4 separate regions of the Homo sapiens genome follow, and all the other regions are linked to region 2. Evidence: promoter capture Hi-C in human tissues and cell types (Jung and others, 2019). All regions are on one chromosome and are shown on one strand. Each heading gives the region's core, a stretch centred on a gene start or on the middle of the fragment in contact. The rest is flanking DNA. Distances are from core to core; before and after follow the strand shown.

Region 1 (5,366 bases), core at 875-3,374, 180 kb after region 2:
CCTTGTCTTTGTGTATTTGTAAAGTGCCATGTCTGCTTACTAGTCTTTAGAAATTACAGACAATAACAGGAATGCAAGAGAAACTGGCAGCTAAAGCCTTGCAGCTTTTCTGAACTAACGCTCTGACCAAGAACCAGAATGGAATATTTTTATAAGGCAATATTGAAACATTCTAATCCCAAGAAACTAAATGAAGTCTGCATTAGCGGTATATAAACCAGCACGCCGTGTTGGCACGGGGTCTCTGCTACTCGCATGGTTAGCCGTGATGCCACGTTAACGAGCTGTTGCTTGCAGTCAGTATGAAAGGGAACACATCCTTTCAGTGAGGGAGCCTCAAGACAATTTCATGACAATAATGGCTGAGTTTAGACTTCACGCTGCCCTCTGTCCTTTCTATGCCAGCCTCCTGAAGATCCAGAAGTTCCCTGAGCATGATGGTTTGCATCTTGTGACATGTATCTGGCTGCGCTAAACTTGCAGAATTTAGGAGCCACAGGAAAGAAAGCCCAGTACTGGAGGGACAGCAATGTGAATGTTTGGATTCAGCTGAGAGGCACGACTAGGCCGGGTCAGCTCAGCAAAACGAAACAAAGCAGAGGCAAAGCAGACAAAGCAAAAGAGTTTTATTTCTCTCTCTCCCTCCCTCCCTCCCTCCCTCCCTTCCTTCCTTTGTCCTTTTCTTTCCTTCCTTCGTCCTTTTCTTTCCTTCCTTCTTTCTCTTCCTCTCTCCCTGCCTTGCTTGCAACTGAACTTTGTAGTGAATTGTCTCCTCCTCACTTCCGCTGTAGTCATGACTTCGAAAAGGCAGAAAGAACTTGAAAATAACATTTAAGAGCTTAATATCATGAACACAACCCAATTTAGAAGGTAATTCATATATGAGGTGTGGATTAGACAACAGAATAGACCTTGAAAGAGTCTGTACTAATTGTTCCAGCCCCTAGAATACAGTGATGGCATTAGTACCCATGCAGAAGCAGAATACACCAGCCTAACAAAAATGTGCAAGCTGAGGGTGTTTAAATGGCTACGAAGGCAAGGTCAGTATCACCCCATGGAAAGCATTCCTTCCTCTCGTTACATGGTCCTCCTCAGGGCATGCGCCGAAAGAGGCTGGAACTGTCCTGAAATGAGCTGGCAGCTTCTGGGCAGCTTATATCACCAGGGTGCTAGACCAGGCCCTGTTAAGGCACAACCAGCCCAGGAAACTTTTAGCTGGAAGCATAAGTGTATTGAATTTAATGACCCAGGCAGCAGCAGCAGAGGTCACTGCAACAGAACTCTAAAATGAAATCCTCCCATTGGAACACCGCTCTCTTTTTCTTTAAAAGCAGCCCTGGAAAATCAGAGGCAGAGCCCAGTCAGAACACAGACTTTTTAATTTCATTTTTCATTTTAGGAATCAATAATTGAAATATTTAATGAAATGCAAATCTCACAGAAATCAGGTTTGGAAACTTACAGTTAAATTTTCATCCTAGATTTGTTTCCAAATGTACATTGTTGAGGCAAAGCAGTTAAAATATAAGTTTTAAAACAATTGTTACTATTCTAAGAGGACTTTTTATGAGTACATTGTTCAATGTAGTCACATTTTATTTCTAAAAATAGACAAATAACAAAATGATTCACAGATGTTGATTTACAAGAAAAATAGTGAACTATATAAACTGAAATGTATTTGAAGGAGGGATAGAGGCCCTCATTATAAACCATTCCATAAAAAGAAAGCAATGCCTTCTCCCTGACTTCCCAGGAAATTCCAAATCCCGGCTGGACCCGCAGCACCCGGATATGAGTGCACTCTGGTCCCTGCTTAAGGCCAGTCCTGGGAGCCAGAGCTGCAGACAGTGACAGATGGCATAAGCATCTGGCATCACACCTTGTGACAGGAGTGTACCCTGGTAAGGGTGGATTTTCTGAGATGGCACTTCTCAATAGTTAATCTACATCAGAATTGCCTGGAAAGCTAAAAAAGATGCAGATTCCCAGTCCCCACCCCCTAGAAACTCAGATTCGGTATAACTAGAGTGGATCCTAGAAATCTGCACATTAAATCTGACTTTCAGGTCATTCTGCTACAGACAGAATGTGGACTACAACTTGAGAAACACGCTCCCCCCCCACCCTTGCCCAGGGATACCATTGAAATCATTTACCTACTTTCAGAATCCTGCCTGCCACTGCCAGATAGGGTTCATCCAGTCCATCCTGTGGTTTATATTAATACCTGAGGGCATCTCCAATACCCAAATTTTTGAGAGCCACAAAAAGAATAATTAGAAATGACTGACCTCACGTTTTGACTCTAAACTGTTCACTATACAATTAATGTAAGCATAATTATATACATCAGACTGCTGTTAATAGATGATGTGGTTCTGGAAATACAGCCTAATCCCTGCTGTATTATATTATGTCCAAATATTCCTGCCCCTCCTGGCTTGGCCCCAACCCTAGTAGTCTGTCCTAGGAGATTGAACTTCCTGCCCATTGAAGGTGGGTCAGCCCAGTGACTTGTTTTGTCCGATGAAATGTGAGTGGGAAGTGGGGCTGCTGCTGTGATCAGAAGCTTTAAGGGCCATGCTGTGGTTCTGCCCTCTCTCCTCCCTCTGCCATGAGAACAGTGCGTTCCAGATAGGAACTGCTCCTTTAGTCTTGATCCAAGTGGGGAGACTTGGGGCAGTTGGGAGTTGAGCTACAGCAGTCTGGGGTGAGAAATAAACCTTTGCTGCTGTAAGTTCCTGAGACTGTAGGGTTGTCTGATACTGCAGCCTAACTTAGCAAAACCAGCTGGCTGTTACAGCTTCTCATTAGTACTGGTGAAATACTAGGCTGGGCGTCGCTACGGGAAATGTCTTCGTCCTGGTTCAGTCTGGAATTTTCTTTTGTCATATGAATTCTTTCTGTTCCACACATCAGAATGTGCTTCCTTTTAATGGCATATTTAATATTAACTGCAGAAAATTATGAGTAGTCTTGAAAATGCTCAGAGTTGAAATGTAAAAACTTAACTCATCAGCTGTATCTCTGGAAGTTAATTCTTAATAACATTGAACCTAGAATGTCCCCCTGCCCCACTTCCAGTATACCTTGCAGAGGGACCTGCCACCAATGACTGATTAGCAGGACCGCAATCTGTGTGTGTGGTATTGCAGCTTCTTGTCTGATTTTCTGCTCCAAACATGTGGTAATCTGTCTTACATGTCTCCATAAGGCTATGGCGGTGAGAAAGGGTGTTTACTTGCCGCTATTTTGTGATGGGAGAAAAAAAATTCCCATTTCAGACCATGGTTTTAGTGCTCTACCATGGGCTCCATGATATTTCCTGTGTAACATTATCAAACATTTCTGTGGAACTGCAGTTTTATGGTTTAAAGATCTCATGCCCCCCTCTGTGTTAAGCCAGTGACCATATATCACTGTCAGAACACACCTGTGAGTTCAGATGAGTGGGAGAGAAAGGGGTGGGTCGTAGCCAGTTCACTGAGGATTTCTCATAGGTCACAACCTGTCTTAGCTCCACTGGCAGTATGTGGCCCTTCCTATTAGTCACACCTAGACTTCTACCATGTCAACTCCCAAATTTTCTGTGTTGCCTTGGACTAAGCCCCTGAAGCTAGTTTAAGCACAGAGAAAGGAACTTATTCAAAGATAAAGAAGTTTGCAGCTTGGCCTGGGAAAAATCCTGGAAGCAGAAAGTAGAGAATCAGTGGGAGCCAGCCCAAGCTCTCCCTCTGCAGATCCCTCCCTCCAAGACTCCTTGGTGTCCAAAGACTGGCTTCCCCTGCTCCCCAGGCTCCATGATGGGATGAAGCTGCCCACACCTCCAGAGTCCACATGTGAGAGTTCCAGCCTCAAGCACAGGAGAAAACTGTTAGTCTCAATCCTTGATATCATCAATTTAATAAGTATTTCTTGCACACCTAGTATATTCCAGGCACTGTTACATGCTTGGGATACACAAAGGAATGAAGAAGATCCCTATGGGGTGGGAGGTAAGGGCCAGAATTCTGTTTCATAAACCCATGGTTACCAGGAGCCCAGCCTCATAGTTCTCATCAGAGGCCTCAGTAAGAAGTGTCATCATCAGCTGGGCTAATATCCCAAAAGATGACACACAAACAAAAAGAAAATGGAAAGTGGGAAAATTCTGGCATGGTCTCAAACAGCATTTTCCACTCAGTTCCACCAGTGTATTGCAGGCCTAATGTTATGGCTCTTAATTTGTTCTCATTACTTAGAGCCAGGAGGGTGGCTCATGCTATTACTTTCATTTCACAGAGAAACAAAAACAAAAAGAAGGACAATACAAGAGAAGGAGTTGGATGAAGTCAATGTTGCTTGGGCACCATTCCTTAGAGTCCTTTCAAAACTGATGCCTCTCAAAATATGGTCAAATGGCCACCAGAGTTCATTTCTGGAATGAATCAATGGTTTTCTCACAGCCTTTCTGAAAGCTGTTGTATCCAAGGCAATACTATTCTTGTGACACATTCTAATGAGGTCTATTTGGGAAGAGAAGTGGAAATTGTGGTATTGCATAAGTAGGCCCTGGGCCACTCTTCTAAACTGTATTCTACTCCTTTCAGGCATGCAATAGGCCTCCAGTTGGAGATTTAGAAAGCTATGGTATGCATGGCTATTTTGTAAGTGAAAATACACCTTTGACTTTGACTTTGGTACAGTGAAAACAACCAGGCTCAGAGCAAGGCCTGCCCCAAATGGAGCTGCTCCATGCCTGCTGGGGAGACAGTGCAACAGGGGGCAAACTAAAACCAAGAGTGAGAATAGAAAGCAGGTATTTACCCAACCCTGCCGTAGAAATTGCTAAGAAAATCATGGAGACTCATTTCACTAGAACGTGCTGTGCCTTCACCAAATAGAGGGTGGTTCCATTTAGAGAAAGAAGAAAACAGTTGCAGATGGTAAATGTTAGTCCAATAACGAGTGATAATTGCCAGTCCCACATCCTCGTAGATACGCACTAAACCCAGCAACCCTCAGAATGCATGGGAGCCTCAAAAGGTAACTTCCCAGGCATGAAATGAATGACTTCTATGGAAGGAAGAAGGAAATTTAGTCAAAGAAGATGACTCAAACAAAGACCTGTGGGCAAGAATGAACACAGACTGAGGGGCTGCAGGTTATTTCAAATTCACATTGTGAAGCAGGGAGAGGAGCAATGAGGCTGATAGAGGCAGTGGTATTAGTGTGAGGGTCTTTATTCAGTAAGTGTGAGGAGCCACTAAATGCCCTGATTTAGATTTTGGCTGTTGCTGGGAAACAATTCTCTCTGGGTGTTTCACATTTCTGCACGTGTTGTGAGTGAGGTGCTGTCATTTTGTTCTAGATTGTTTTCA
Region 2 (5,479 bases), core at 2,203-4,702:
ATGCCTGTAGCCCCAAGGAAGGACAGCGAAGGCTAAATGGGCCCTGGGGCAGCGACTCCCGGCATCCCTCCCTTTCGCGGGGGCGTCAGGAGGACCTCATCATCGGGCAGAATAACTACCTACCTGGCTACCCACGGGACGGAGCACCCTCAGGCCAGGCACTCGCGTTTTCTTCTGTCTCTTTTCAGGGCTCACAGTGACAGGTACAAACACTATCGCAATACAGCCTTCTAGAATGACTCTTCAAAGGAGGGTCGAGGCGCCAGGGGAACCGCTGGGGTTGAAAACACGTTCATGTTCACGTTCATGGGTAAAATCCTGGGATGCACAAGGAATAGCCTAGGTTCCTTCCCCGTAAGTCTGAGCCCCCAGGTCTCTTCCAGCCTTCATCCCCCTAAGGAGGTCCCTGGGCTTGGGGCGCTCATGGTCAGGGGCAAAGGACAAAGGGCGGAGGCAGGGAGCCTCCCGACGGTGGCGCAGCCTCTCCGGCTCTCACCTAGCGTAATCCACGTGACCCCCGCGCAGGGGCTCCTGGAGGGCCCAAACCGCTCGTGGGGGGAAAAAGCCTCAGCCTGCAGTCCAAGGACCTGCCTCCACTACCGCCCAGTCCCGGGCCCCCGCAGCCGGTGGGAGGGACGCCCGGGAGCCGGCTGCCCACACTCGAGAAACACAGGCTGCTGGGCGAGTTCCCCGCGCGGGCCGAGCTCCCAGGGAGTTGCCGGCCCGGGCGCGAGGGCCCGCAGGTCGTCGCACCGCCGCCAGGGGGCAACTCTGCCCTACGCAGGCACCACCGGGACCCGCCGCCCGCCACTTTCCGCGTCCACGCGAGCGGGTTGCGCCGGACGGGGGTCTTCGCGTCGCTTCCCCGGCTCGCCTCTGGGAAAGGTTTTGGTCCCTTGTACCAGCTTGGGGGCGGGGAGCCGGGGGAGAGTTACCAGCTGGGGCCGAAAGCTGGGAGCGCTGTAGAGAAGGAGGCCCGGGGTAGGGGACGATGGGGGAGACAAGGGGGTCGCGCAAGACGTGAATCGCTTGAGTTTCCGCGCTCGGGGAATTTCGCGACTGCGGAGCTAAAGGTTGCATACAAACATGTAGCTTAACTAAGCAAACAAAACAAGTGGTCACATCCACATGTGGGGCTTCAGTAAAGCTCGCCTAAATCTTAGTGACACTTCTCCGTCTCTGCAGCGGTCCCTCTGGGCTGATCTTCCACTCTGACCTTCAGTAAGTCCTAAAACTTTCCCCGGAGTGGCCAGGAGATAATTCGCCACATTCTGCAAACGTTTCCAGGGAAGAGCCTCTTAACCCTTTGGGGGAAGAACTTGCGGACAAAGTTACAAACGAACGCAGTCTATCTCCCGCGCCATGAACGGAATGATGGCTGTAACCGGTCATCTAAAGTCATTAATGGTCTGCGAACAAATTCTTCCTCTCTGTTTCATCTTTGAATAACTTCGCCACACACCAACCCTCAGTGCTGCGAAAGTCATGGTGTTTATTTAGATATCGACTGAGTACTTATAAAACTTAAACTTTCCAATGTAAAAGTGAACTCCTTGGTAAGGACTCCTGGCTGCATCAACAAAGCAATGTGATGCCTGATTAATAGTGCTGATTAATGTTGGCTCAGGTTAATGCTCAGCCTATTACAGTAATTAAATTGTTCACCCATATATCAAACAAGAGTTAATGAAAAATAATTTATTTAGAACGTCGAGGCTTTCTCATAGATTGTTCAAAGACCTATGATAGCCTTTATGGGTCACTTGTAAGAGTAACTGGTGGTAGCAGTCCTCAGCAACAAAAACTCGATTTTAATAGAGGTCTTTAGATGGGGAAACAGTTTATTTCTGAGGCTCTGTGATTGACAGCGGTAGTAATGACACGTTTCAGAATGTGAAAAGTACTTGGTCGATAAAATGATATACACAAGGGCAGCTGATGGCTGTTCCTACAGAACGCCATTGAATTTTGATTCTTAGTTCTTGTCAAGGGGTCATTTTAATCAGAAAGTTAAACTTTTGGGACAAGCTCCCCTCTTTGAAATAGAAGCATTTTAGGAAATGCACAAATAAGTGAATGTGAATTCAACAAACTATTAGGATTTTTCCACTAGCCAAAATAGCTCGTTTGAGTTGGTGATAAAGATAGGTATATTTAAAAGAGCATCATATCTTAATTATTTCCACTATCTTGTCACCCGAAAAGAAAACTGAATTGAGCGGAACTTTAATCTCATAAAAAAAATTTTCATCTCACCAGAAAGGATTAACAATATTTAAGGATTTTCCAAAAACACATTTTTAAAAAGTTTATCTTAAAGTCATCTATCATTATAGTTTCTATTAATAAGCCTCAGTAGAAATATGTATATGTTATGTAATTTAAGTATTTTGAGATTACTATGCAAAGTGCTGACTAGAATGTTCCTCCTACTGAGAACTATATAGCCCCATTATGAACGAACTTCTGTTTTTTTTTTTTTTTTTTGAGGCGGAGTTTCGCTCTTGTTGCCCAGGCTGGAGTGCAGTGGCACGATCTCGGCTCACTGCAACCTCCGCATCCCGGGTCCAAGCGATTCTCCTGCCTCGGCCTCCCGAGTAGCTGGGATTACAGGCGCCGCCTACTAATTTTTTTCTATTTTTAGTAGAGACGGGGTTTCACCATGTTGGCCAGGCTGGTCGAACTTTTTAGTAGTTTCTAGGTGCAATTTTTGTGCGTGTATTTGGGTTTTCACTAAAAATTTCAATTTCTTCTCCGAATTCAATTATTACGTTCTTTATTCCCATGACATTTGTCAGATCGTCTCATTAGAGTGGCTTAGTTTAACTGTCAAGTCTCTAGGGCATTCAATCGCAGAGAAGTGAGTAAAACGCCAGTCTCACAGCGTTTTTATTAACAGATGGCGGAAAACAAACGTCTTTGGAGTAAAACCGAAGAGAATGGGTTAAAGGGTCAATAAACAATTATTATCGTGCTTAAATTGGGGGGCTTCGCATCAGATCCAATGGGGGGCCGCTCGCCCGATCTGGAGGGGCTGGACACCCCCAACCGACCCCAGAGCGTCCCCCAGGGGCCACCTCAGAGGATGGGGTGGTTATCCCCCGGCTGGAAGGCTCCTACAGGCTGTCGAGGGGTCAAACCAGAGTGTCGCGGGTGTGCTTCTGAGGTTAGGGTGGAGGACTAATTGAGGAGGCTGGGAAGTCTAACTCGTGCAGCGGCCCTCGGTGCAGACAGCCGCGTAATTCGGGCATCAGCCTCTTTGGCAAGAAATAGTGAGGTCCCCTCTCCTCCCCACTCTTCTCAGCTGCTGCCTCCCTCCTACGGGTGAATTTTCTCTCCCGAGAAGGGCTGATTTCCTAGGCTTGCTTTCCTTCCCTCGGCAGCGCTCTGACGTGCACACCATGTGACAGGCCCCCTTCTGCTATAAGCCGAGGAAGGTCCGCCCTCTCCTGGACTCAGCCCTGGCCTCGCCGAGCTCTGTTCTTAGACTCTCACCCGTCCCGCACGTTCCTGGGCGCCTGGCGTTCTGATTCGCCCGCCCGGGCCCCGCCACCCCCTCCTCAGCTGACGGGGCAAAAGCTGCTCCGAGAGGAGAAGGTCAAGTCCTCCGCCCGGGCCGGGCGCGAGCGGAGCCCAGGGAGCGCAGCATCCGCGCGGCTACCGCGGCGGCGCAGGAGTTATAAAGTCGGCGCGCGAGACTCCGCCGCCACCCGGCAGCCCCGGCGCAGCTCCGGCAGCCGCAGTCGCAGCGCCCCCAGCGTGGCGCCCCCCGGCCGGGCCTGCCGCCCGGGACCCGGGCTGGGGCGCAGAGGGAGCCCGGAGCCCGGCGCCCCCATGCGCCGCCCCGCCGCCGCCGCGCCACAGCTATGACCCTGAGCACTGAGATGTCCGATGCCTCTGGCCTCGCCGAGGAAACAGACATCGACGTGGTGGGGGAGGGCGAGGACGAAGAAGACGAGGAAGAGGAGGACGACGACGAGGGCGGCGGTGGCGGGCCCCGGCTGGCTGTCCCCGCGCAGCGGCGGCGGCGGCGGCGCTCGTACGCCGGGGAGGACGAGCTGGAGGATCTGGAGGAGGAGGAGGACGACGATGACATCCTGCTGGCCCCGCCTGCTGGGGGCTCCCCGGCGCCCCCGGGCCCGGCCCCGGCGGCGGGGGCAGGAGCCGGTGGGGGCGGCGGCGGCGGCGGCGCGGGCGGCGGCGGGAGCGCGGGTAGCGGCGCCAAGAACCCGCTGGTGAAGCCGCCCTACTCGTATATCGCGCTCATCACTATGGCCATCCTGCAGAGCCCCAAGAAGCGGCTGACGCTGAGCGAGATCTGTGAGTTCATCAGCGGCCGCTTCCCCTACTACCGGGAGAAGTTCCCCGCCTGGCAGAACAGCATCCGCCACAACCTCTCGCTCAACGACTGCTTCGTCAAGATCCCCCGCGAGCCCGGCAACCCGGGCAAGGGCAACTACTGGACGCTGGACCCGGAGTCCGCCGACATGTTCGACAACGGCAGCTTCCTGCGCCGGAGGAAGCGCTTCAAGCGGCAGCCGCTGCTCCCACCCAACGCCGCGGCCGCCGAGTCTCTGCTGCTGCGCGGCGCGGGAGCCGCAGGGGGCGCGGGCGACCCGGCAGCCGCCGCCGCGCTCTTCCCGCCCGCGCCCCCGCCGCCCCCGCATGCCTACGGCTACGGCCCCTACGGCTGCGGCTACGGCCTGCAGCTGCCGCCTTACGCGCCGCCCTCGGCCCTCTTCGCCGCCGCAGCGGCCGCCGCCGCCGCCGCCGCCTTCCACCCGCACTCGCCCCCGCCGCCCCCGCCACCGCACGGCGCGGCCGCCGAGCTGGCCCGGACCGCCTTCGGCTACCGGCCGCACCCGCTCGGCGCCGCCCTACCCGGCCCCCTGCCGGCCTCCGCGGCCAAGGCGGGCGGCCCGGGCGCCTCAGCGCTGGCGCGCTCGCCCTTCTCCATCGAGAGCATCATCGGGGGCAGCTTGGGCCCGGCCGCCGCTGCCGCCGCCGCCGCGCAGGCCGCCGCCGCCGCTCAGGCCTCGCCCTCGCCCTCGCCGGTGGCGGCGCCGCCAGCTCCCGGATCCAGCGGAGGAGGCTGCGCGGCGCAGGCGGCCGTGGGCCCGGCGGCCGCGCTCACCCGATCCCTCGTGGCCGCCGCGGCCGCCGCCGCCTCCTCAGTCTCCTCGTCCGCCGCCTTGGGGACTCTGCACCAAGGGACTGCCCTGTCCAGTGTCGAGAACTTTACTGCTAGGATTTCCAATTGTTAATAACGCTATGTTAGCGCGCTCGAGGAAGAAGGTAGGAATCCCGGCTCCTTTTCTCGTCTTGGTGGTTCGGTGTTTTGTTCGCTCCTCCAGGCGCGGCCCCTCTCGACCTCGCGCGCCCATTTTCGCCGCTGCGAATTCTCGGACAAAACTGTCAACAGCCCGGGCGCGCCTTTTGGCTCTGCGGGTCCCTCTATTTATGCAAAGCCGACCTATGC
Region 3 (5,395 bases), core at 1,248-3,747, 230 kb after region 2:
CCTATTTAGATTTTCTCTAAATTCTTTGAGGCTAATGCAACTTCTGAATGTGTCTAATAATCTCTAATTATTTGTGGAAATGGTAGATGTGAGGAGACCAGATTAAATCCACAGATAATCACAAAATCTCATTTTAGCCAGCAGTACAGCTCTTTCCCACCAAACCCAGCTAGTACTAGAGGTACTAACTACTAAGAAATGCAAGGTAGACTGGAGTTCCCAGTTTTCCTTTCTCCTGCCCATCCTCTGGTGGAGATGTTAATGAATTGCCAGACTTCCAATGACAACAAAAAAAGCCAGCAAAAAAAGAAAGTGGAAACTCAGGGGCCTGGGCCACTACCCAGCTAGAAAAGCAGATGCTGAGGAACTGGAAGGCAGGCTTCCTATCATAAAGGAGCAAAGCACATGCCCACACCTGAGCAGCTGGGCTACCATTTCCAGAAGGCGCAGCACTGTCCCAACTTTCTGTACTGTCACACTTACACCATCGTGTTCTGTCCAGTTTGACCAGCTTCATTCTTGGAAGGTGGTGCAACAGAACTATAACCTGGAGCCTCCTCTCCCATCTCAAAGCACCAGATAAGGACCAGGCCAGGGATGGTCCAAGTGCTGTCCTCAGTTGACTAATAGGATGAGGAAAGAAAGAGGAAGACAAAGACTTTGTTTTGGGGATGACTCTATAAATCCCACAAGCCTTTGCTTTAGTGTTGCTCCCTCTTAATGCTTTTCATTTTTTCTAACTTGATGGTTTATTAACGTCAGCACTGCAGTTTCACAATCCTTTTGAACCCAGGTCTAGATTTAATGAATGCAAAAATTTTACATGATTTGTAAGTTATGTGAAGTTTCCAAATAAATATCATCAGTGAAAAAATCAATGCAAGTCATTTTGGAGCAAAGATTTTTCAAAAGACTGGAGACTATCTGATGAGACAATTTCATGTCTACTCTTGGTAAGGACCCACAAGATATTATTTGATCTTTGGTAGGTGTATTTCTTTCCCCTCCTCCTTTTCCTGGGCCATTTTCATTTGGGTTGGAGCCCTCTGGAACTTTTGGCTAGTTTTGGTTCAAATGAGTTAAGAATTAAATTTGGGCCAGGCATAGTACCTCACGCCTGTAGTCCCAGCACTTTGGGAGGCCTAGGCAGGCAGATGGCTTGAGCCTAGGAGTTTGAGACTAGCCTGGACAACATGGCGAAAACCCGTCTCTACTAAAAATACAAAAATTAGCTGGGTGTGGTGGTGCACGCTTGTAGTCCCAGCTATTCTGGAGGCTGAGGCAGGAGGATCACTTAAACCAAGGAGGTCGAGGCTGGGGTGAGCTGAGATCGCCAGCCTGGGTGACAAAGTGAGAACCTATCTCTGGGCTGGGCGGGGGTGGTGGGAAGAGAGACAGAGAGAGAGAGAGAGAGAGAGAGAGAGAGAGAGAGAGAGAGAGAGAGAATTAAATTTGGAAGCAGGGAGAAGAAAAATGGAGACGATTTGGTGAAGGAAAGAGAACCAGGTGACCATAACTTCTTCGGGTGGAATAACAGAAAGGTGTAGAAGTCTCTACTAAGAGATGAAAGATCTGACATGGAGAAAATAGAAAAAGAAAAGGTGGCCATTCAATTTTATATATATATATATCTCCTGAAGTTAAACTTTCTGGCCACAGAGCTCAGAATCACCATAATTACTTTATGTTCTAAATGATGTCCTTTAGGCTCCCAACATCTCAAGTCTCAGTAGCTGCAAAATGGGGGTGACAGCTGGTCGCCAGCGCAGGGAAGGTGCGTTCGGAGGCTGGGGGTGGAGGGGAACGCAGGGAGAAGCTCGCCACCTTTCTTCCCGGAGCGGAATTCCCTGGAGTTGGAGTGACTTTCCGGCTGATTCACAGCTCTGCTCTCCCTCGCGTCCCTTGCGGCCACTTCCAGCGCTCGATCCGAGTCTCCGGGGGCGGCAGAGCCTGGGTGCCAAGGCGGCCGACCGCAGGCCTGTTCCCGGAGGTCGGGGATCGTCTCCCGCGGACCTTTCCACCCCGGCCAATTCTTGGGCACTCCACTCGCTGGGCAGCCCCGCGGCCTCCCCAGCTGCCTGCGCCGTCCTGGCTCCCGCGCTCCAGGTCCCTCTCCGCGTGCTCTGCGCCACAGCTCCTCTCTCCTGCCCCCATGCGGCCATAGGGGGAAAACCGCGCGGGTGCTCAAGGGCCCTGGCCGCCCTGGCCGCCGCCGCCGCGCCCTCGATGCTGGGCGCTTGGGTGGTGCGCGGGTGCACCGCACTTGGGCAGGGAGGAAAAGCTGCGCTCCGAGGAGGATGGTGCTGATTCTGCGGGACAGAGACTCCCTGGGATCTTCGAGAAGGTTTCGGCAGCTCCGCACCCCCCCCCCCCGCCCCATCTAAGGCTGTTGACCCAGAAGTGCGGACAAGGAGGAAGCCTTCTCCCCAGCGCCGCGAGGCTGGCCGCTTCGTGAACGAGAACGTGGTTATGCACGGACGGAGGGCAGGGTGTCTGCAGTGAGGTGGTGGGAGATGGGGCGGATAAAGCTTGGGGTTTAAGGCACCACGAGTAACGTAGTCCCAGCTTTGCAGCTCCGGGCTTAGGTGTTTATTTCATTTTAAGTTCCCCCTTTCACTGCCTGTACTAGCCTAGAGGGAGTTACAAATGACTTCCACATCCTGGTAGTACGTGGGTTCGTGGCCTTTCCCTTAGCCAGCCCAGCCAGCGAGGTTTCAGCTGCCAGAAAATGTGTTTCCCATCCAACATTTCTCACACAAGGACAAAATATAACGTGTCTAAAAATGGCGAGCTTCCTGTCTGGGCTCCCCTCTCCCACCCCGGTTCCCCACTTAGGAATAAAACTTGAGGAACAAAGATTAGTTTGAAATCTATTTTTCTTTGGACATCCCAGATTTCTGCTGGTTCAGTGTCCCGTGTCAGGTGAAATTATTCATGAGGCTCTGAACTGAGTTGATAAGTCTTACTCCTTATCCCTAGAAATTCCAACTGGATTTAAATCACTCCCTGGTTGCTGCAGAAGGTCTATGTTTTATGGGAGTTCTCTAGTGAGCTTTGAAGTATTTGCTTACCAAATCCGTTTCTCAGCTTCCAGCTCCTGAATAAATTACCTGCCGCTTCTCTCTGCTGCCACTCCCCCGCCCTCCTGAAATATGAACAGTGGGGATGTTTTCTGAACAATAGGTTGGAATGAGGGCTCTGGGACTTATCAGTCAATTGCCAGCCCCAGGACACCCATTTGCAGCCGTGGCTGACTGGAGATTTCCAATGGCTAATGGAATAGGCAGGGAATGGGGGCCCGTGGACCTTATTCCATTCACAGGTTTATCCCTCACTCACAGGGAATCACTTAACGAGTGTCACCATATACTATCTCAAGCCTGGTTGCTTCGTCAGGGAAATGGTCATTAGAATCCTCATTTAGAGAACACATTAAAATCCTCATGTTGAAAACATCCTGGAGCTTTTTTTGAGGATTGCCACTTGCCAGAGGTTAGTGCTAATTGATGTCAGGCAGGTCTGTTTGCAAAGACTGAAGACTATAGACTTCTATTTATTTTGTTCTTTGCATAAGGGCTAGAGAGGGTAAAGGGAAATTGGGCAGCCAAGACCCTTGGGTGAGCCAAGAGGCATTTCGCATTATGTCCCAGCTGCTTAGAAAGTATTTTTGTCCATCCTCCTGTATGAACAGGATGGGGCATGTCTAAATTGTCCATTTTTATGTCTGCCGGGAAGATGCTTCCCTTTCTGTCCCTAATACCTAAAATGTCACTAAAATCACCGTTTTCTTCGTTCATGCAATATGTTAAAGAGTTCATTAAAGACTCCCCAGGGGGCTCCAGAGCAGCCTCTTCTGGGGTTGTGATTTGTCACATTTCCATGATTCACTTCACCAGGGGCCTCAGTAGCTGGAGGATTCCTTGACTCTCTCACTGGGACTTCCCAGACATGAACAAGGATCCCATTACCCTTTTCTTACTTCGAGTTTTTCTAAACCAACAACACCAACAACAACAAAAAGTAAAACAAACAAAAAATTAAAATATACCAAAGCAAAGACATCTGGCTATTTACAAAGCACAGATTTCTTACCCTAAAATAATTGAAGCCTGTCCCAGACTTGGCTGATCCTGCCTCTGGCTGGGCTCAGGGCTTCAGCCTCCTGGTCCTCTGATTGCTGCTGCTTCATTGGAGGAAGCTGCTCCCTGGTCTTCATCTTCGGGGGACTTAGAGCATGGCTGGACGCCCACTTTTTTGTGCACTTCACCCCATGGCCTCTGAGCCTGAGCAGTGGTCCTCTCGGGGAAGAAAAGCCTTTCTCAGGTCTCAAGGTTCCTCCCTGGGCCTCCTGGTAGCCCTAGGCACTCCTTGGGTAGCACGCAGGAAGGTTCAGAGCCCTTACCTGTCACTCGCTACTCTCAGGCAGCCAGCCTAGGCTGTGGGTGCTGGGCCCCATCCACCCAGAAGCCTGCCTACTTTCTATTCACCCCTCCCCTCTCCATCTTTCCCCCAGCCAGCCAACACCACTGAAAACCACCTGTTTTGTGTTTTGAAATCCTGGAAGCACGCCCATCCTCCACCCTCGCAGACCTCCCACTGTGTTCCAGTTTCCTGTTCAAACTCCAGATTTGAGTTCTTGACTCATTTCAAGAACATTCAAAAGTCACATACGCTGAGCTTGCTGCATATTCAAGTCTTTTCTTCTCTGCTCAGGTGGCCAATGGTCCCCCTCTCAGGCGAAGGGGAATCTTGTAAAGTTTCAAGCCTGGCAGCCCCCAGGGGTGATCCTCAGACTAGTCAGAGATCAAGTACCTGCAAAGTCACAGTCATCTCTACAGGGCACCGTGTAACCAATTAGTCCCCTCAAATGTGCTAGGAACAATTTTACAAGCAAAAACTATGACCCTGTTATGTCATCTACTGTAAAATCACAACCACAAGCAAACAGGTTCACACACAATTACAAGCACAAAGGAAATTACTGACTTCCCCGATTGGCAGACTGGCAGTTTCTGAATGTTCTGGCGATGCCAATTTGTTCAATAATCTCCTCCTCCTCCTCCTCCTCCTTCTTTCTTTCTTTCTTCTTCTTGTTCTTGTTCTTCTTCTCCTTCTTCTTCCTTCTTCTTCTTCTTCTTCTTTATTATTATTATTATTATTATTATTATTATTATACTTTAAGTTCCGGGAAACGTGGAGAACGTGCAGGTTTGTTACATAGGTATACAAGTGGCATGGTGGTTTGCTGCACCCATCAACTCGTCATCTACATTAAATATTTCTCCTAATGTTATCCCTCCCCTAGCCCACACCCCTCAGCAGGCCCCGGTGTGTGATGTTCCCCTCCCTGTGTCCATGTGTTCTCATTGTTCAGCTCCCGCTTATGAGTGGGAAC
Region 4 (4,860 bases), core at 1,935-4,434, 210 kb after region 2:
TCACAGAGTTGTGCAACCATCACCACAATCAATTTTAGGACATTTTTGTCATCCCTAAAAGAAACCACATTGTTATCAATCCCCATTTCCCCAAATTCCTCCTCTCGGGCCCTAGGCAAACACCAATCTATTTTTCATGTCTATGGATTTGCCTGTTCTGTACATTTGATCTAAATGAAGTCGTATACTACGTGGCCCTTTGTGACTGGTTTCTTTCACTTAACATTATGTTTTCAAAGTTTATCAACGTAGCATGTATCTACATGTATCAGCAGTATGAATACATGCAGAATACAAGCAGGAATCACTACTTTATTTCTTTTTATGACTGAATGACATTTCATTGTATGGATTTGCCACATTTTTTTCTCCATTCACCAATAGAAATTTGGCTAAAAACCATTGGATTATATAATTTAAATGGGTGAATTGAAATGGAAACATTTGGGTTGTTTCCACTTTCTGACTATCATGAATAATACTACTATAAATATTTGTGTACAAGCTTTTTTGTGGACAGATGTTTTTATTTTTCTTGCATATATAGCTAGGAGTAGAATTACTAGGTCATATGGTTAACTCTATGTTTAACCTTTTTAGGAACTACCAGACTGTTTTCCAAAGTGGCTATACCATTTTGCATTTCCACCTGCAGTATATGAAGGTTCCAATCCCTTCATATCCCTGCCAACACTTGTTATTGATCTTTTTGATGCCTGCTTTAATTTACAATAGCACTTATTACTTTCCAACATGCTATAATATGTTTTTATTTCCTACCTTTTAAAATATTGTGTCTCTCTCTACTGCAATGTAAATTCAAGGAAGGCAGAAATTTTTGCTTTTTTAAATCTGTTTTGTTCACTCTTGAAAGTGCCTAGAACACTGGAAGCAGTCAATAAATATTTGTAGATTGATAAGCCCAGTTACTCAGATGGCTGAGCTGGGTGGATCCCTTGAGCCCAGGATTTTGAGGCCTCGCCACTACTGCCAGCCTGGGTGACAGAGCAAGACCTGGTCTCCAAAAAAAAAAAAAAATTGTGGATTGAAATGGAATGAGTTTAGCATAACTGATACCAAAACCAGACAACAGCATGAGAAAAGGAAGTATAAGTGAGTTCTGTTTATCAGCCTCAAAAATATATTTGTATTATTTAAGTTATGTTTTTATTCACAAATTATATATATATATATATATATATGGTACAATGTGATGTTTCTATACATGTATACATTGTGGAATAATCAAATCAGGCTAATTAACATACCCATTACCACAGATATTTATCATTTATTTATGTGAGAACACTTAAAATCCTCTCTTTTTGAAATTTTGAAGTATATATAACTATTAGCTATATTTGCCATACTAGGCAGTAGATTTCCAGAACTTATGCCTCCTGTCTCACTGCAACTTTGTACCTTTAACCGATGTTTCTCCTTTCCCCATCTTCCCCTCTCCCCTGCTCCCAGCCTCTGGGAACTATCATTCTACTCTGTACTTCTATGAATTCGATGTTTTAGATTCCACTTATAAGTGAGATTATATTATTTGTCTCTCTGTGTCTGGCTTATTGCACTTAGCATAATGTCCTCTAGGTTTATCCATGTTGTTGAAAATTACAGAATTTCCTGTTTTTAAGAAGTTGAATAGTATTCCATTGTGTATATATACCACTTTTTTAAACCCATTTGTCCATTGACGAGCACTTCAGTTGTTTCCATATTTTTGTTTGTTTGCTTGAGAAGGGTCTGGTTCTCTTGCCCAGGCTGCAGTGCAGTGGTGTGATCTCGGCTCACTGCCACCTCTGCCTCCTGGCCTCAAGGGTTCCTCTCACCTCAGCCTCCCGAGTAGCTGGGACTACAGGTATGCGCCATCATGCCCGGCTAATTTTTGTGGGGTTTTTTTGTAGAGACAGGGTTTCATCATGTTGCCCAAGCAACCTGCCTGCCTCTGCCTCCCTAAGTGCTGGGATTACAGGCATGAGCCACTATGCCCAGCTGTTCCTGTATCTTGACTATTGTGAATAATGTTGCAATGAACATGTGCAGACATGTCTTCAACATACTGAGTTTAATTCCTTTGTATTATATACTCAGAGTGGGGATTGCTGGATGGTATAGTAATCCTGTTTTTTATTTTTTGATGAACCTCCATACTGTTTTCCAAAGTGGCTGTACTAGTTTACAATACCACCAATGCTGTACAGGTTCCATATTTCTCCACACCCTCACTAAGACTTGTTATCGTTGATCTTTTTGATAATAGCAATCTAACAGTTGTGAGGTGATATCTCATTGTGGTTTTCGTTTGCATTTTTCTGATCATTAGAGACGTTGAGCATTTTAAAAATATATATGTTGGCCATTTGTATGTCTTCTTTTGAAAAATGTCTATTTAGGTCCTCTGCCCATTTTTTGATAGGGTGATTTGTTTTCTTCTTCTGGGTAGTTTGATTTCCTTATATATTTTGGATATTAGCCCCTTATCTGATGTATGATTTGCAAATATTTTCTCCCAATCTGTGAGTTGTCTCTTCATTCTGTTGTTTCCCTTGCTGTGCAGAAGTTTTCTAGTTTGTTGCAGTCCCATTTGTCTATTTTTTCTTTCATTGGCTATGAGACTCAAAAATTTAAATAAGATATTACCAACGAAATAGATTAAGATCACAAAAACCATCTGTATCTTGGAGAGATAATACAAGCTTACAAAGACAAAGCTACATATTAGACAGTTACTGGGAGACACCGGGCCAAGGATTCCATGGATATGTAAAACAAAAAGTCATAATTGAACTTTGCTTCCCACAGGGCCCATCATATCTCATTAACTATGAAAGAAGCAGAAAATAAATCAAGGAACCACTTTATCCTTCAGGAAGCCAGGAAACAAAATAGGGTACCAACTTGGCATCAAATTTTGTTATAACTTGAGCAGGTTCACAGGGCAAGCATGCTGGGCCTTAGAGTGGCAGGAGTGGGAAGGAAAAGGTAAACAGAAAGTGGGGTGAGAAGCTCCTAGCCTAGAAGCTTGGTGCAGTGCAGGATTCTAGTGACCCTGGGCAGCAGGTTGTGTGCCCTGGGGTCCAATCCTGTACAGGGTGTGGGTATTGAGTTAGGCAGTCAGCTCTCCTAATAACCAATCTATTCCTAGCAGGGACCCAACCACTGGCCAAGGTAAAAAGAACAGGATAGGCCAGGTGCAGTGGCTCATGCCTGTAATCCCAGCACTTTGGGAGGCCGAGGTGGGCAGATCACGAGGTCAAGAGATTGAGACCATCCTGGCCAACATGGTGAAACCCCATCTCTACCAAAAATAGAAAAATTAGCCAGACGTGGTGGCCCAAGCCTGTAATCCCAGCTACTCGGGAGGCTGAGGCAGGAGAATCACTTGAACCCGGGAGGCAGAGGTTGCAGTGAGCCAAGATCGTGCCACTGCACTCCAGCCTGGCAACAGAGTGAGAGTGAGACTCCATCTCAAAAAAAAAAAGAAAAAAAAAAAAAAAAAGAACAGGATACTGTTCCACCTCTGTGCCACTTCCAGGGATTGGCAGGAATCAAGCAGGGTGTCAGACCAGCCAAATGGGGGTAGAGGGCAGGGTTCCAATCCCAGGGATGGGGAGAGGTGAAGAGGGGATCAAGGTCTGGATAGCCAGGAAGTCTAGCTGTGGAAATTGACCAGTTTAGTGTGGTATATGTGATATATATTGGGCGAGGGGTGGGGTGGGGGGTGGGGAAGATGACAAGCACAACATTGTTACCAGTTTCACATATCTGGCACTTAAAATATCTTGTTTTATTTCAAGGGGAGGTGTTTACCTAGCCCCTGTAAGGCTTTGTAAACCCTTGTCCAAATTTTGCATTTCCCACTGCACCCAAGCAGGGCCCAGCACAGTACCCAATAATCCTTTGCAGTTTATAATTGAACCCAGTTCCCTGAATAAAGACTTTCCACAGTGCAGAATCTACATCCCCACGGTCCTCCCAACTCTTTCTGTCATTCCGCGGGGGTGGGGGTGGAAGGCAGATCTCCCCCAGGGCAGAACCGTGCGATTCACCGGACATCTGAACTCTGCCCACAATACTTTTTAACCCGATGGTTACCCCTCTGACTCCGATGACCTTTCGGGGGTGGGGGAGGCAGGAAAGCCACCCTTCCTTTCTCCTCGTTATCCCACCCTGTCACCTCCGTTTTCTGCAAAACACATGTACGTTTGAAAAAAACGTCTTTCATCTGGGACATGTTTTCTTTACCAGAGCAAGTGTGTGTGAAGGGGCGGGGAGGGGCGGGGAAGGGAAGGGGTACCAAAGTGCCCAGCAGCAGGAGCACCTACAAAAACAATCCTTCCCGGGCGAGGCACCGGGGGAAAATCGTACCAAGGAAGGTGACTCGCCACTCCCGGAGGCTGGGCCGCTCGCCTTGGGCAGTCCTGGGCGGTGATGGGGGAGGAGGGATGAAGGGAAAAAGATGGAGGTGGGGGAAGGGCAAGAGGCGGGGGAGGGGGTGGTCCCGAGCAATTCAATGGCGCTTTGATTTAACAACTCCAAGCCCTTTGAAAACATTTTGCCAAGAAAAGCTTGCCATCAACACGTATAATCTCTTATCAGAGGCCCCTGAAAGCCCGGGCCCCGGGGTTAATTCCCCCATCGCAATGAGTTTGAATCAGCTCTAAACCCGCAGTGACATGAAAGCGCCCGAGCCTCGGGCCGCACAGAGCCCACTGAGATCCGCCGACCAGGGAGGATTACGGGGCCTGTTCCGCGGCGGGCTCGCCGGCGGGACGGGCAGGCTCAAAAGAAAAAGAATAATTAGGGATAATTGCTTGTGTCCAAACACAAGCATTAAGGCCCCCTGTTCCC

Evidence for each region. The method cuts DNA at HindIII sites, captures the fragments that hold promoters and counts their contacts. A contact is called where the count stands out against the background at its distance.
Region 1: a contact is called between a fragment that was not itself captured here and the fragment with the promoter of FOXD1 in region 2, in 2 of the 25 tissues and cell types used here (IMR-90 fibroblasts and aorta).
Region 3: a contact is called between a fragment that was not itself captured here and the fragment with the promoter of FOXD1 in region 2, in 2 of the 25 tissues and cell types used here (IMR-90 fibroblasts and spleen).
Region 4: a fragment that was not itself captured here is called in contact with the fragment with the promoter of FOXD1 in region 2 in 1 of the 25 tissues and cell types used here (mesenchymal stem cells).

Annotation. Positions count from the first base shown.
Region 1 is chr5:73,262,289-73,267,654 of GRCh38, reverse strand. All of the region lies in intron 1 of LOC124901002 (a long non-coding RNA gene), which reads right to left. The region is part of intron 1 of LOC105379031 (a long non-coding RNA gene); the gene reads left to right. Among named protein-coding and RNA genes, the nearest start is that of LINC02230, 73 kb to the left of the region's middle. The HindIII fragment of the contact is 4,811 bases long and covers 1-4,529 here.
Region 2 is chr5:73,446,750-73,452,228 of GRCh38, reverse strand. It overlaps FOXD1 (forkhead box D1), which reads left to right and starts at 3,452. Exons shown (of 1, transcript NM_004472.3): 1 at 3,452-5,479. The coding sequence starts at 3,867. The coding sequence ends at 5,264. RefSeq lists a silencer at 643-852. The HindIII fragment of the contact is 13,220 bases long and covers 1-5,479 here.
Region 3 is chr5:73,212,979-73,218,373 of GRCh38, reverse strand. LOC124901002 (a long non-coding RNA gene) reads right to left here and starts at 4,438. Exons shown (of 3, transcript XR_007058818.1): 1 at 4,093-4,438. RefSeq lists a silencer at 2,068-2,247. The HindIII fragment of the contact is 6,939 bases long and covers 1-5,395 here.
Region 4 is chr5:73,233,913-73,238,772 of GRCh38, reverse strand. The region is part of intron 1 of LOC124901002 (a long non-coding RNA gene); the gene reads right to left. Among named protein-coding and RNA genes, the nearest start is that of TMEM174, 63 kb to the right of the region's middle. The HindIII fragment of the contact is 3,158 bases long and covers 1,606-4,763 here.